Regions from separate parts of the Homo sapiens genome. Here all the other regions are linked to region 3. Evidence: promoter capture Hi-C in 16 types of primary human blood cells and fetal thymus (Javierre and others, 2016). All regions are on one chromosome and are shown on one strand. The core of a region is centred on a gene start or on the middle of the fragment in contact, and the rest is flanking DNA. Distances in the headings are between cores, read along the strand shown.

What was found. The method cuts DNA at HindIII sites, captures the fragments that hold promoters and counts their contacts. A CHiCAGO score of 5 or more calls a contact.
Region 1: a fragment that was not itself captured here is called in contact with the fragment with the promoter of PABPN1L in region 3 in 4 of 17 cell types (monocytes, M1 macrophages, fetal thymus and 1 more); the score reaches 7.4 in monocytes.
Region 2: a contact is called between a fragment that was not itself captured here and the fragment with the promoter of PABPN1L in region 3, in 8 of 17 cell types (M1 macrophages, monocytes, erythroblasts and 5 more). The highest score is 8.6, in M1 macrophages.

What each region holds. Positions count from the first base shown.
Region 1 is chr16:89,147,883-89,152,847 of GRCh38, reverse strand. The region is part of intron 10 of ACSF3 (acyl-CoA synthetase family member 3); the gene reads right to left. Among named protein-coding and RNA genes, the nearest start is that of LINC00304, 8.9 kb to the left of the region's middle. The HindIII fragment of the contact is 8,507 bases long and covers 1-4,965 here.
Region 2 is chr16:89,127,029-89,131,751 of GRCh38, reverse strand. The region is part of intron 7 of ACSF3 (acyl-CoA synthetase family member 3); the gene reads right to left. Among named protein-coding and RNA genes, the nearest start is that of LINC00304, 30 kb to the left of the region's middle. The HindIII fragment of the contact is 1,442 bases long and covers 2,178-3,619 here.
Region 3 is chr16:88,865,410-88,870,063 of GRCh38, reverse strand. It overlaps PABPN1L (PABPN1 like, cytoplasmic), which reads left to right and starts at 3,404. Exons shown (of 7, transcript NM_001080487.4): 1 at 3,404-3,712; 2 at 4,123-4,258; 3 at 4,434-4,501. The coding sequence starts at 3,458. The HindIII fragment of the contact is 14,417 bases long and covers 1-4,654 here.

The DNA of each region.
Region 1 (4,965 bases), core at 398-2,897, 280 kb before region 3:
AGTGCAGTGGTGCAGTCATGGCTCACTGAAGCCTCGACTTCCTGGGCTCAAAGGATCCTCCCGAAGTGCTACAGGTATGCGTCACCTTACCTGGTTCCAATGTTCCTATCAAATTTATTTTGGCACGTATATATTTTATAGTTGTATAAAACTATGACAGGCATTTAAATGGAGATGTAATTTACACCCAGCTGTCCTATGTACAGTGTGGTGAGGGATGTGTAGATTTTTTTTTCTTTTGAGACAGAGGCTTGCCCTGTCGCCCAGGCTGGATTGCAGTGGTGCAGTCTCGGCTTGCCGCAACCTCCGCCTCCCGGGTTCAAGCGATTCTCCTGCCTCAGCCTCCTAACTAGCTGGGACTACAGGCGCATACCACCATGCCTGGCTAATTTTTGTATTTTTAATAGAGACGGGGTTTCACCATGTTGGCCAGGATGGTCTCCAACTCCTGACGTCAGGTGATCTGCCCACCTCGGCCTCCCAAAGTGCTGGGATTACAGGTGTGAGCACCACGCCTGGCCTGTGTGGGAATCTAAAGTTTTATTGAAGCAACTGCCCCCTGCTCTAAGTAGCGCCCAGACTGAAAGGGAACATGGCCAGGTTCCCAGAAGCCCCTCTGCCTGCCTGAGCCACTCCCAACCTCCACGTGTAACCAACGTCTCGGTTTCTAACAGGGGACAAACTCTGTGTTGAATGAGACTGGGTGGCAGTGGTGAGGGCAGGCGCCCCTTCCTGGTCACAGGAGGAAAACGCCCAGCAGCTCCCCATCGAGCAGGATGTCATCTGGTAGCTTTTGAGAGACTCCCTCATCAGGTTCAAGGATTTTCCTTCTTCTCCTAGTTTGCTAAGAGTGCTTGTTATAAAAGGGTTTTGACATTTGCAAATGCTTTTTCTGTATCTATTGAAATGATATGATCTTTCTTCTTCATTCTGTAAATATGGTGAATTACCAGTGGCTCACGCTTGTAATTCCAGGACTTCGGGAGGCCGAGGCGGGAGGATTACTTGAAGTCAGGAGTTCGAGACCAGCTTGGCCAACACGGTGAAACCCCGTCTCTAATAAAAATACAAAAATTAGCTGTGCATGGTGGTGCGCACCTGTAATCCCAGCTACTCAGGAGGCTGAGGCAGGAGAATCACTTGAACCTGGGAGCTGGAGGTTGCAGTGAGCGGAGATCGTGCCACTGCACTCCAGCCTGGGCGACAGAGCGAGACTCCATCCAAAAAAAAAAAAAATATATGGTGAATTACACAGACTGATTTTTGAATATGAAAGTAACCCTCTATTCCTGGCTTAAATGCTGCTTGATCATGACGTGTTGTCTTTTTGTGCATTAACTGGATTTAATTTGCTAACGTTTTGTTTAGGATTTTGTGTGTCTGCCCATTGGGAACACTGTCCTCTCGTTTTCTTGTCTGGTTTTGATTTCAGGGTAGTGCTGGTCCCATACGGGGAGTTAGGAAGTGTTCCTCCCCACTCTGTTTCATCAGAGACTTACTTTGCTGTGTCTGGTTTTATTTTTTGCCTTCAATGTTTGAGATAATTTATCAGTGAAGCCTTTTGGGCCTGCTATTTGCTTTGCAGTTTTAAATTGGTAACTCAGAACTGTTCAGTCTGTTTCAGTGTTTGCGTCAGTCTTGGCAATTTGTGTCTTTTAAGGGAGTTATCTGTTTCATCTGAACTGCTGACTTCACTGGATACAGCAGCCCTCCGTGCCGCCATCCTGCCCGTCAGAGCCCGCATGCCTGAGGCGAGGTTTCGTTTCCTTCCGATATTTAGAATGCTGTTTTCTCTCCTCTTGGTTGGGTGTTCTTTCAACCTGAAAACTCATGACCTTTGGTTTGGGGAAATTTGACTGTGAATTTCCTCCCTGGATATCTTCTTGTTGGAACTCCCATTAGACAGTTGGAACATTTGGATTAATCCTCTAACTTACTTCCTCCTGCCTCCCTTCCTGTTCTTCTTTCTTTCATGGTGAATGGACAAGCACTGCAGTCTCAGCCTGAGCCGGGCACAGCAAGCAGGACTCAGGGCTGCAGGGGAGGTAGCTGTGGGCCAGGTACAGCAAGTGGCCTGGACAGCAAGGGCCTGGCTCCAGGGCTCCTGCAGGACTGGCGGAGTCCTGGGCTGTGACCGCATGGCTGGTGGCCTTCCCTGCCCAGTCCTGTCCCTCACAGGCGGCTTCTCCTCAGCGGGCCCTCAAGTGCCCTGCACGCAGCTTCCCGTCTTAGGGTCTTGTCACAGCCACTGTCATAGCCCAAACAATGCTGGGTGAGGAGCCTGATGTGAGAGATGCACAGAGCAGGAGCAGGCGGCCTGGTGTCCCTGGGCAGGGGCGGCCTGGTGTCCCCACGCAGAGGGCAGCCCTGAGGACAGCCAAGGGCTGAGGAGCATCGGGACTTCAGTTCCTGCCAACTCGGACCCTGAAACTCTAGCACAGCTCTCAGCCCTCGACACCTATCTTTTCTTCTCAAGGTAACTGTTTAATGAAAGCAGCAGCTGCTGCTGAGTGGCAGTGCTCCCGCTGTGTTGTGCAAGCCCAGGCATGTGTGGTGCCCTGATGCTGCCCTGATCAAGCAAGCGTTTCTGCTGTCTGTGGAGTCACATCGGACAAGCCAAAAATATCTTCAGTGCTCAGGAGACGGCAAGTCAGGGTGGAGGCAGGAGGGTGCGTCCAGAGAGGGAACAGAACAGAGACAAATGCTCGGTCTTAAATAATTTGCTGTAGGTGAGCTCTTCCTCCTGCTCCACCATGTGGGACATGCCTGCCTCCCCTTCTGTCATGACTGTAAGTTTCCTGAGGCCTCCCCAGCCATGCTTCCTTATAGCCTGTGGAACTGTGAGCCACTTAAACCTCTTTTCTTTATAAATTACCATCTTGGGTAGTTCCTTATGAAAGCAACAGGAAGCAGTCAAATGCCCAGATAGACAGGGGTGGGTCCCTGGTGAAACCCCACCTTCAAGCCAAAAACAGCCTGAAACCTGCAGCCTGGAGTGAGAACTTCTATTCCTGTTTGCCCACTCTTTCCCACTGGTTCTTTCTGAATAATGCTTTTTAACCAACCAAAGGTTACCTTTTCCAGTGCTACCTACAGCCTGCCCCTCCCCATTCTGTGCCCAGAAAAGCCCTAGACCCAGCCACACCCAACTCTGGGCGGTTCAGCACCCTCGCATACCCTCTCCGCTGAGAGCTGTTTCATTGCTCAATAAAATTCTTCTCCACTCTCCTCACCCTTTGAATTGTCAGTGTAACCTCATTCTTCTTGGACGCGGGACAAGAACTTGGGAACCGATGAATGCAGGTATAAGCTATAACACAGGTGGGCTGAGCCAGTGCATAAGCCAAGCATGGCCCAGTGGGTCGAGTGTGTGGGTGCCTTCTGTGGCAGGCCTGGGTTGGGGGTGTCACCAGCCACGGAGGTCCCCGGTTGGCAAAGTGGCTGAGAAAAATCTGGCTTCATTTATAGCAATGCAAGACTGGACTAACACAGAAAACTGGTACAGGGAAGTGGGGCACTGCTGTTAAGACATCTGGAAATGTGGAAGCAGCTTTGGAACTGGGTAACAGGCAGAGGCTGGAACGATTTGGAGAGCTCGGAAGAAGACAGGAAGATGAGGGAAAGTTTGGAACTTCCTAAAGACTTGTTAAATTGTTGTGACTAAAATGCTAATAGCGATATGGACAATGAAGTCCAGGCTGAGGTAGACTCGGAGGGAGATGAGGAACTTATTGGGAACTGGAGCAAAGATTGCTTTTGTTAAGCATGAGCAAAGAGATGACCTGAAACCGGAACTTAGATTTAAAAGGTAAGCAGAGCATAAAATTTGGAAAATTTGCAGCCTGATCACATGGTAGAAAACAAACAAACAAACAATTTTCTGGGGAGGAATTCAAGCTGGCTGCAGAAATGTGCGTAAGTAAAGAGGAGCTGAATATTAATCGCCAAGACAATGAGGAAAATGTCTCTAGGCGTGTCAGAGACCTTCATGGAAGTGCCTCTCATCATAGGCCTGGAGGCCTCGGAGGGAAGAATGGTTTTGTGGGCCACTGCCCTGAGGGACACTGGCCCCTGCATCCCTGTTGCTCTGGGGCTAAAAGGGCTCCAGATAGAGCTCAGGCCACTGCTCCAGGGCAGTGAAGAGGAGAAAGATGGGGTTGGAGCCCCCACACAGAGTCCCCAGTGGGGCCCTGGCTACTGCAGCTGTGAGAAGAGGGCCACCGTTCTCCAGACCCCAGAATAACCCACCGACAGCTTGCACTGTGTGGTGCACCTAGAAAAGTTGCAGGCACACAACAGCAGCCTATGAAAGCAGCATGGGGGCTGTACCCTACAGAGCCACAGGAGCAGAGATACCCATGGCCTTGGGAGCCACCTCCATGCATCAGTGTAGCCTGGATGTGAGACATGGGTCTTAGGAGATTATTTTGGGGCTTTAAGATTTATTGGGCTGGGTGGGGTTGCTCACGCCTGTAATTCCAGCATTTTGGGAATCTGAGGCAGGTGGATCACTTGAGGTCAGGAGTTCGAGACCAGCCTGGACAACATGGCAAAACCCCATCTCTACTAAAAAATACAAAAATTAGCTGGGTGTGGTGGTGCATGCCTATAGTCCCAGCTACTTAGGGAGGCTGAGGTAGGAGAATTGCTTGCAGGCAGAGGCTATAGTAAGCTGAGATCATGCCACTGCACTCCAGCCTGGGCATCAGAGCAAGACCCCGTCTCAAAAAAAAAAAAAAAAAAAAACCAAAAAAGAAGAAACCAAAAAACAATTCAGTGACTGCCTTGCTAGGTTTTGGACCTGCCTGGGGCTCGCAGCCCCTTTGTTTTGGCTGGCGGCTCTCTTTTGGCACTGGTGTATTTACCCAATGCCTGCACCCCCACTGTATCTGGGAAGTAACTTGTCTTTGATTTTACAGGCTCATAGGTGAAAAGGACTTGCCTTGTCTCAGACGAGACTTTGGA
Region 2 (4,723 bases), core at 1,649-4,148, 260 kb before region 3:
GCCACTGGTCAGTACACTTGTGGGACATGTAGAGACAGCAAGGCAAAGGCCCTACAAATAAAATGACAATGAGACCAATCCCAGGGAAGGAGGGTCAGACTTTGTAGAGTTAAGCCAACCAAGTCACAGTAAAACAAACACCTCAACATCTTCACAGAATGTCAACAAGACCAAGAATCTCATCCCTAACATTAAAAATATCCAGGGTACAATACAAAGTTACTCAACACGGGAAAAAACCAGAAAAATAGCAACTCATATAGAAAAAGAATACAACAGCACTGAGACAACACAGTTATTGGAATTATCTGAGAAAGACTTTAAAGCACTATTATAAAAATGCTCCAAAAAGTAAGGGCACACTTTGGGAGGCTGAGGCGGGCAGACTGCTTGAGCTCGGGTGTTTGAGAACAGCCTGGGCAACATGGCAAAACCCTGTCTCTACAAAAAAGATAAAAACTAGCCAGGTGTGGTGGTCAGTGCTTGTAGTCCCAGCTACTTGGGAGGCTGAGGTAGGAGGATCGCTTGAGGTGGAGATTGCAGTGAACCAAGACTGCAGCCCTGCACTTCAGCCTAGGTGACGGAGTGAGACCCTGTCTCAAAAAAAAAAAAAAAAAAAAAAAAGAAAAAGAAAAAGAAAAAGAAAGAAAGGGCAAACACTTGGAAATAAATGGAAAAACAGAAAGTCTCAACAAAGAAATAACAGATATAAAGCAGAACCAAACAATAATTTAAAAACTGAAAAATACAGAAATAAAGAATCTCATGGATTGGTTCAGGAGCAGGACGATGAAGAAACGAACGTGACAACTTGAAGACAGAGCAACAGAAATGACCCAAAATCTGAACAGCAGAGAAAAATCACCAGGAAAGTCAACACACAGAGGGCTAACGTTCATGCTACTGGAGTGACAGAAGAAAAGATAACACTTAGGTGCACAAAGTCGTTTGATAAAATTTGGCTAAAAACCCAAAATTTGGTGAAAACATAAGCCTATAAACTAAAGAAGCTGAGAGAATCCCAAACAGGACAAACCAAAAGATGTCCAAGCCCAGACACATCATAATCCAATCACTGACACACAGAGAGGAACAAGGGTTCCTGCGCCCACTGATTTCTCCACGGAAACAATGGAGGCCGGAAAGAAGTGGAGTTATATTATTAGTAGTATTTTTTTGAGACAGACTCTCATTCTGTCACCCAGGCTGGAGTGCAATGGCATGATCTCGGCTTACTGCAACCTCCACCTCCCAGGTTAAAACAATCCTCCAGCCTCAGCCTCCCAAGTAGCTGGGATTACAGGTGTGTGCCACCATGCCTGGCTAATTTTTGTATTTTTAGTAGAGACAGGGTTTCCCCATGTTGGCCAGGCTGGTCTCAAATTCTTGACCTCAGGTGATCCACTCCCACCTTGGCCTCCCAAAGTGCTGGGACTATAGGCATGAGCTGCCACATCCAGCCAAGAATCATATTTTTAAAGTGCTGAAAGAAAATAGTTGTCAACCCAGAATTCCTAATCCAATGAAAATATCCTTCAGGAAGGAAGATAAAGACATTCTTAGATGAGGAAAAATAAGGTAATTTGTTGCAAGCAGATCTGATCTAAAAGAATTCCTATAGAATGTCCTTCAGACAGAAAGAAACTGGTATCAGAAGGAGACTTGGTATATTGGGAATACAGGAAAAGCAACAGAAGTGGCAAATATTTGGATGAATGAAGTTGAGTTCCTTTCTTCTCAAGTTCTCTGAAATATTTTTGACTGTTGAAAGCAAAAATTACCATTTTGTCTAACGGAGTTTACAACAAATACAGGTATTACACTGACTACACTCTAAAGGCAGAGGGTAAGTAACCGATGTGGAGGCAGGGATGTGGCTCTACATTCTTCTGGAAGTGTTAAAATGTTGACTTTAAGTAGACTGTAAAAAAGGAAGTATGTATATTGTAGTTTCTGGAACTACTACTAAAAAAACTATGCAAAGACATTTATGGTCAAAAACTTAAGAGACAAATTAAAATGGAATATGAAAAAATAACCTCAAAGAAGGCAGTAAAGTTGAGCAATAAAACTCTCAGGGAACAATAGTAAACACATAGTAAAATGGTAGGCTTAAATTCAAGCACATCAATAATTACATTAAATGTAAATGGTCTAAACATACCAATTACAAAGCTTGTCAGGCTGGATTTAAAAAACACACATAATCCAACTGTATGCTGTGTATAAGAAACTTGCTTCAAATACAATTACACAGGTAGGTTGGAAGTAAAGGGATAGAACAATAAATACCATGCAAACTCCAACCGAGAAATTAAAATAGCTATAATAATATCAAAGTAAACTTAAGAGCAAAGAGCATTACCAGAGCATTAAATGTTAATAAGAGTCAATTCACCAATAAGACACAATCATTATAAATGTGAATGTACCAAACAACAGACTTTCAAAATATATGAAGCAAAAACTGAAAGCAGAAACAGGCAGTTATAGTTGGAAAATTCAACCCCTCACTTAGTAACAGAACAAGTGGTGAGAAAACCAGCAAGGATATAGAAGAACTGAACAACACGATCAAACACCTTCATCTAATTTACAGAACAGACATTTCCTAAAACGAGCAGGACACACACTCTTGCTCTGTCAGGCTGGAGTGCGGTGGCATCATCACAGCTCACTGCAGCCTCAAACTCCCAGATTCAGGCGATCTTCCCGCCTCGGCCTCCTGTGTAGCTGGGACCAAAGGCATGTAACACCATGCCCAGCTATTTTTTTTTTTCCAACTTTTTGTAGAGATGGGGTCTCACTATGTTGCTCAGGCTGGGCTCAAACTCCTGGGCAGTGATTCTCCTGCCTTGGCCTCCCAAAGTGTTGGGATTACAGGTGTGAGCCACTGCGCCTGGGCAGAATATATACTCTTTTCAAGTACACCAGAACATTCCTGAAAAGAAACCACATTCTGGGCCACAAAACACAACTTAACAAATTTAAAAGAATTGAAATATACCAAGTGCGTCTTTTGACTGTAATGGACTTAAACTAGAAATCAGTAACAGAAAGATAATGGAAAAATATCCAACTATTTGGAAAATATGTGCTATACTTCTAAATAATCCACAAGTCAAAGAGGAAGTCTTAAGGAACATTAAAAATATTTTGAACTAAATGAAAATAAAAATATATCAAAATTTAGGTCAGGCGTGGTGGCTCATGCCTGTAATCTCAGCACTTTGGGAAGCCGAGGTGGGTGGATCACTTGAGGTCAGGAGTTCGAAACCAGCCTGACCAACATGGTGAAACCCCATCTGTACTAAATACAAAAAATTAGCTGGGCGTGGTGGCGCATGCCTATACTCCCAGCTACTCAGGAGGCTGAGGCAGGAGAATTGCTTGAACCTGGGAGGCTGAGGTTGCAGTGAGCCAAGATCATGCCATTGCACTCCAGCCTGGGCAACGAGAGCGAAACTCCGTCTCAAAAAAAAAAAAAGAAAAAAGAAAAAAATATATATATATTATATATAAATTTGGGGATGCAGCTAAAGCAATGCTTAAGGGCAACGTACGTCATTAAATGTACACATTATAAAGAGGAAAGGTCTCAAATCAATAATCTAAAGCTTCACCTTAAGCAACTAGAAAAAGAGAAAAGCCAGAAGCAAGTAGAAGAAACCAAGAACTAGTGAAACTGAAAACAGAAAAACAGTAAAGAAAAATCAATGTATCCAAAAGTGACTTCTTTGAAAAAAGAGCCATAAAACAGATAAACTTCTAGCAAGGATAACAAAGAAAAAAGAAACAGAAGACACAAATTACCAACATGAGGAATGGGAGCCACATAACTTCAGGCCCTGAAACCATTAAAAGGTTAAGATGGGAATTCCCTTATTAACCTTTTAATCAACCTTTTAATGGTTTCGTGGCCTGAAGGGAAACTCTACATAAAGAAACTTAACAGATTAAATGAACCAATTCCTCAAAAATGATATGTACCAAAAATCACCCAAGATGCAACAGATGACCTGAACAGTCCTATAAGCACTAAAGAAATTGAATTCATAGTTCTTTTTCTTTCAAAAAAGAAACGTTGGTAGGGCACAGTGGCTCACACCTGTAACCCTAGCACTTTGGGAGGCGAGGAGGGAGAATCACTTGAGGCCAGGAGTTCAAGATCAGCCTGGGCAATATAGTGAGACCCCCAACTCTACAAAAATAAAAATAAAAAATTAGCTGGGCATGTTGGCACATGCCTGTGGTCCCAGCTACTTGGGAGGCTGACGCAGGATCACTTGAGCCCAGGAGTTCAAGGCTCCAGTGAGCTATGATTGCACCACTGCACTCCAGCCTGCGTGACAGAACGAGACCTTATCCCCCACACACAAAATAATAATAATAGAAAAGAAAACCTCTAGGCCCAGATGATTTCATTGGTGAATTCCACCAATCATTGAAAGAAGAAATAATACCAATTCTACACAATCTCTTCCAGAAAAAAAAAGAGGAGAGAACACTTCCCAACTCATTTAATGAGGCCAGCATCACCCTCAAACACAACCCAAAGAAAGTACAAAAATGGGAAACTACAGACCAAAATTTCTTATGAATACAGATGCAAAAATACTCAGCAATATGCTAGCAAATCAAATCCAGTACTATATATAAAAAAATGACCCACCAGGACCAAGTGGGGTTTGTCCTGGGAATGAAAGCTTGGTTCAATGTAATC
Region 3 (4,654 bases), core at 2,155-4,654:
GGTGGACAGCACAGGAAGGGACGGCTTGCCCCTCTCAGCCACCCCCATGGGGCCCTGGTGTTGGGTCACACACGGATCCTGTCTGGAATAGGAGTTGTCCTGGGCGCTGGGGCCCCAGGGGCCAGGCTGCCATGAATCCTCAGGCCCGGCTCTGGAACAGGGTGTATTTGAAGAGTGTCACTGGAAAGGCCAGGGTCGGAGCCGTCTGTCCCCTGCCAGGCAGCTGGCAGGAGCCCTGGCCGGGCCTTGTGTGTCAGCAATCTCAGACAGGGTGAGGATGACAAGGTTTTCCATGGCCGGGGCCCGAGCTCAGAGGGGCATGCGTCAGGGCCTGGGCCGAGTCCAGCAGACTCTGGTCTTGGATGGAACTGGTTGCAATCCTGCCTCTGACAGGGAGGTGGAGGCACGGGTGCTGGCAGACCCTCCAACACACAGGCACAGACACACGGGGCAGGGGGCTCCATCCCAACAGGAGGATCCCAGGCTGAGGCCGCACTCCACCCAGCGTACCTGTCCTCGGTGCAGATGTGGGCGCTGCCCCTGAGGAGCTTTGGTTTCTAAGGGGAGAGCTGGCCAAGTCATCAACACTGGACGGACAGCAGGAAAGGCGTGAGGACAGCGGCTCTCGAGGGAGGAGGAGCAGCCCGGCAGCCCTCCCGGAAACAGTGGCACCGTGTTCGCAGGGGGAACAGCGTCCAGGGACCACGCACACGTAAGTGTGTGGCTGTGCGGAGCCAGGGAGAGGGGAAGGGGCGTCCAGGGCCATAGCCAGGTTCCAGACAAGGCCCATTCCTCCCCGACCTCATGAGCCTGCCCCAGAAAATCCTCTGGGTGGTGAACAGATGGGGTGACAGCATGGTCTTCAGTCAGCCTCCTGGAGGTGGGAAAAGAAAACAGAATTTCGGGACCTAAAACGCACTAAGCCAAAGGGAAAAGTCAAGCTGGGAGCCGAATCACACACACCTGCCTCCCATTTTCTTCCTAATTGGACAGCCACGAAGATGAAGAAGCCTGTGCCTCCTCGCATCGCGCTTACAGGGAAATTCCTTGTGGGTCCCAAGATCTTGGCTCTGAAACAGTTCTGCTGGATCCCACCCAGATAGTGTGATCTAGCAGCTTATCTTCCCAGGTATGGGACAAAGGACAGAGCTAACGTTACCCTCCGCTCACCGGAGGCGAATGCGAACCTGCCAGCTTCCTATTCCCTGTGGCAGTTTTATCTTCTGTGGAAACGCAGAGTCGCTGAGCGTGGGGCTACGTAATTCTCTTCTCTACCCCCACCTTCCACATTTCAAAATGTGCATTTGGTGACTGCCAATCAGAGATTCAAAGGAACGCTACCACTTGCCTTTTATCCGCCCTCCCTTTTCTTTCCTTCCTGTGTTCCCCTCCTGCCCGCTCTTTCCCTTTAAGTATAAAAGTCTCCAAACCCTCTTTGGGTTTTTTTGTTTTTGTTTTTTGAGACAGTCTCACTCCGTCGCCCAGGCCGGAGTGCAGTGGCGCGATCTCGGCTCACTGCAACCTCTGCCTCCCGGGTTCAAGTGATTCTCCTGCCTCAGCCTCCCAAGTATCTGGGATTACAGGCGCCCGCCACCATGCCTGGCTAATTGTTTTTGTATTTTTAGTAGAGACAGGGTTTCACCATGTTGGCCAGGCTGGTTTTGAACTCCTGACCTTAAGTGATCCGCTCACCTCGGCCTCCCAGACTGCTGGGATTATAGGCGTGAGCCACCATGCCCGGCCTCCAAACCCTCTTTGGAAAAAGCAGAGCACAGATGTTGCCTGTGGCTTCGTGTTTCTTTTTCCTGGGTGCACCCTTAACCTTGGCAAGATACACCTCTAAACTGATTGATTGAGACCCATCTCAGACACCTTCTGGCTTTTACAGAGGTGAGAACAGACTGGGTGCAGGAGCCTGGGTTCCCAGGCTGTGGCAGCCTCCATGTCCACCTGCTCCCCGAGCCCCCAGCCCAAGATGGAGGAAGGGCCGCCCTGCGTGGGTGGTGCATGGTGCAGCAGTGCAGCTCCAGCCTAGGCCACGCCCTGTCTCTCTCTCCTCCCCCAGTCCCAAATTCCCAGGAATCCCAGCCCCACTGGCTAAACACCGGGGTGCAGTCACAGAGAGGATGGCCTCGGCCTGGGGGTAGGAGCTGTGCAGGGGGCCCCGTCTCCCACCACCAATGGCAGGGGTAAGAGCCATGCATGACCCCCTGGCCCCGAGTCCTTCACAGAGTGGGTGGGAGACGGCAGCACTGGAGATGAAGGCCAGAGCAGACTCCAGCAGCCGCGGTGGCAGGTGCAGAGGGAGGCGCAAGGGCGGACACGGGTCACCTCCTGCTGCAACCCTGCATGGGTGAAGCCAGGTGCAGACACCACCGGATGCCCACTGAATTCCGCCACAGTAACTCACGCCGTCACTCCCCACGGAGACCCCGCCCCACAATAACTCACGCCGTCACTCCCCACGGAGCCCCCGCCCCACAGCAGAATAATTCTGGCCTCATGGAAGTGGCTCCCACCTAAAAGATGACCCAGACCAGGTGCGGTGCTCACGCCTGTAATCCCAGCACTTCGGGAGGCCGAGTCGGGCGGATCACCTGAGGTCAGGAGTTCGAGACCAGCCTGGGCAACATGGTGAAACCCTGTCTCTACTAAAAAGACAAAAAAAATTAGCTGGGCATGGTGGCAGGTGCCTGTAATCCCAGCTACTCAGGAGGCTGAGGCAGGAGAATCACCCGAACCTGGGAGGCAAAGGTTGCCGTGAGCCGAGATCGCGCCACCGCACTCCAGACTTGGCAACAAAGCAAGACTCCTGCCTAAAAAAAAAAGAAAAAAAAAAAAAAGGCCCAGAATAAGGGTTAGGGAGGCAAGGGTCCCTGGGGACTCCATGGGGGTCAGGATGCAGAGACAGCTGTTGCTGCCCCTCCTCTGGGCCCAGGACCCCGCCCCAACCTGCCTCGGCCCTCTCATCCCATGCACCTGCTCTCGGTCTCTGCTCAGGCCCTGCCTCTCCTGGTCGGAAGCCACCTCTCCAGCCTGCTTGGTCCCTGGTACTAGAAGAAACCACTCCCGTGTTCCCACTTAGATCGAGTGTTCATGCAGTGTGGCGTTCGTGCCGTGTGGATGCTGCTGAGGTGTGAACCCTGTCACAGACCAAGGCTCCAGTGAGCCACAGCGTGGCCAGGCGGAAGCAGAAGAGACCGGTGACCCCCACTCAACTCAGCCTCTCCTTCCTCCAGGGAGAGTGTCCTGGAGGTACCTGTCCGAGTGACAGGGAAGGGGCGGGGCCGGGAGCCAAGGCTGGAAGCTCAGCCCCACTCAGCCTTTGCAAATGCTCTAGTGGGAGCAGCTGGCCTCAGGGGAGGGCTTAAAACTCCAGGAGAGCCTGGGCAGGTGCGGACGCGAGGGGAGTGGAGGGGAGGCCTCGCCTGGCCCACCTTCCTCCTGCCCCTCTACCATGTGGCCCTTCCCGAGCCGCTCTCTCTTCCCACCCCCGACTCAGGCCTGGCTCCAGACGGTCTCCTCAGACCCTGAGGCCCAGGGCTGGGGGGCCTGGAACGAGACCAAGGAGATTCTGGGGCCAGAGGGTGGGGAAGGGAAGGAGGAGAAAGAGGAGGAAGAGGATGCAGAGGAAGACCAGGATGGGGATGCAGGCTTTCTGCTGTCTCTGCTGGAGCAAGAGAACCTGGCTGAGTGCCCATTGCCTGACCAGGTAACAGCTGTGTGGAGGCCCTGGGGATCTCAGGGGACCTGGGGCACAGGGGCTGGTGGAGACACGGGGTCTGGGTGACGGATGGCTGCAGCTGACTTAGGAGGGGAGAGGGCCATTGCCCACCTGCCTGGACGAAGGTGGCAAGGAGACCCCCCGCCCCCAGCCACACAGACTGCAGGGTCAAGGTGGCCTCTCTCGCCTGGGGAAGGGCCCTTGAGGTGCGGTTTCGGGGGCTTCTCTGCAGGGGCGAGTTCATCCCCAGCCAGCTGCCCCAGGAAGGAGTGTCCCTGTCCAGAGAAGGGCTGCCCCTTGGGGCTGTGACCCTCTGCTGGAGCTGGCAGGCCACACACCCACCTTCCTTGAGCAGAGCCTGCAGGCTGCCTGCCCGGCTCAGGGCCGTGTGTCGGCAGGAGCTGGAGGCCATCAAGATGAAGGTGTGTGCCATGGAGCAGGCCGAGGGGACGCCACGGCCTCCAGGAGTGCAGCAACAGGCCGAGGAAGAGGAGGGCACCGCGGCCGGGCAGCTGCTGAGCCCTGAGACCGTGGGTAGGAACCAAGGGCACAGGCCGCCCCCCACTGAGCAAGGGTCCCACAGTTTCCATTAAGGTTGGGCCTGGCAGGCTCCAAGGTGTCACCTCCCCTATAAGCCTGGGCGACCTTCCCCGTGAGAGGAGTGAGGAAGGAACCAAGGGCCTGCGGGCCTGAGCTGTGTTCTCCGCAGGCTGCCCCCTCTCTGGGACCCCCGAGGAGAAGGTGGAGGCTGACCACAGATCCGTCTACGTGGGCAACGTGAGTGGTGGGCGGGGTGAAGGGGCAGGCAGCGAATGGGGCCCCATCTCTACCAGAGGGTCTGGCGCCCGGCCATGGGCCAGGCAGCCTTGCTGGGAAGGGGGTCTGACCCTGGGGGCAGCCCCGTCACCTTGAGGAAACACTGGCCTGGGC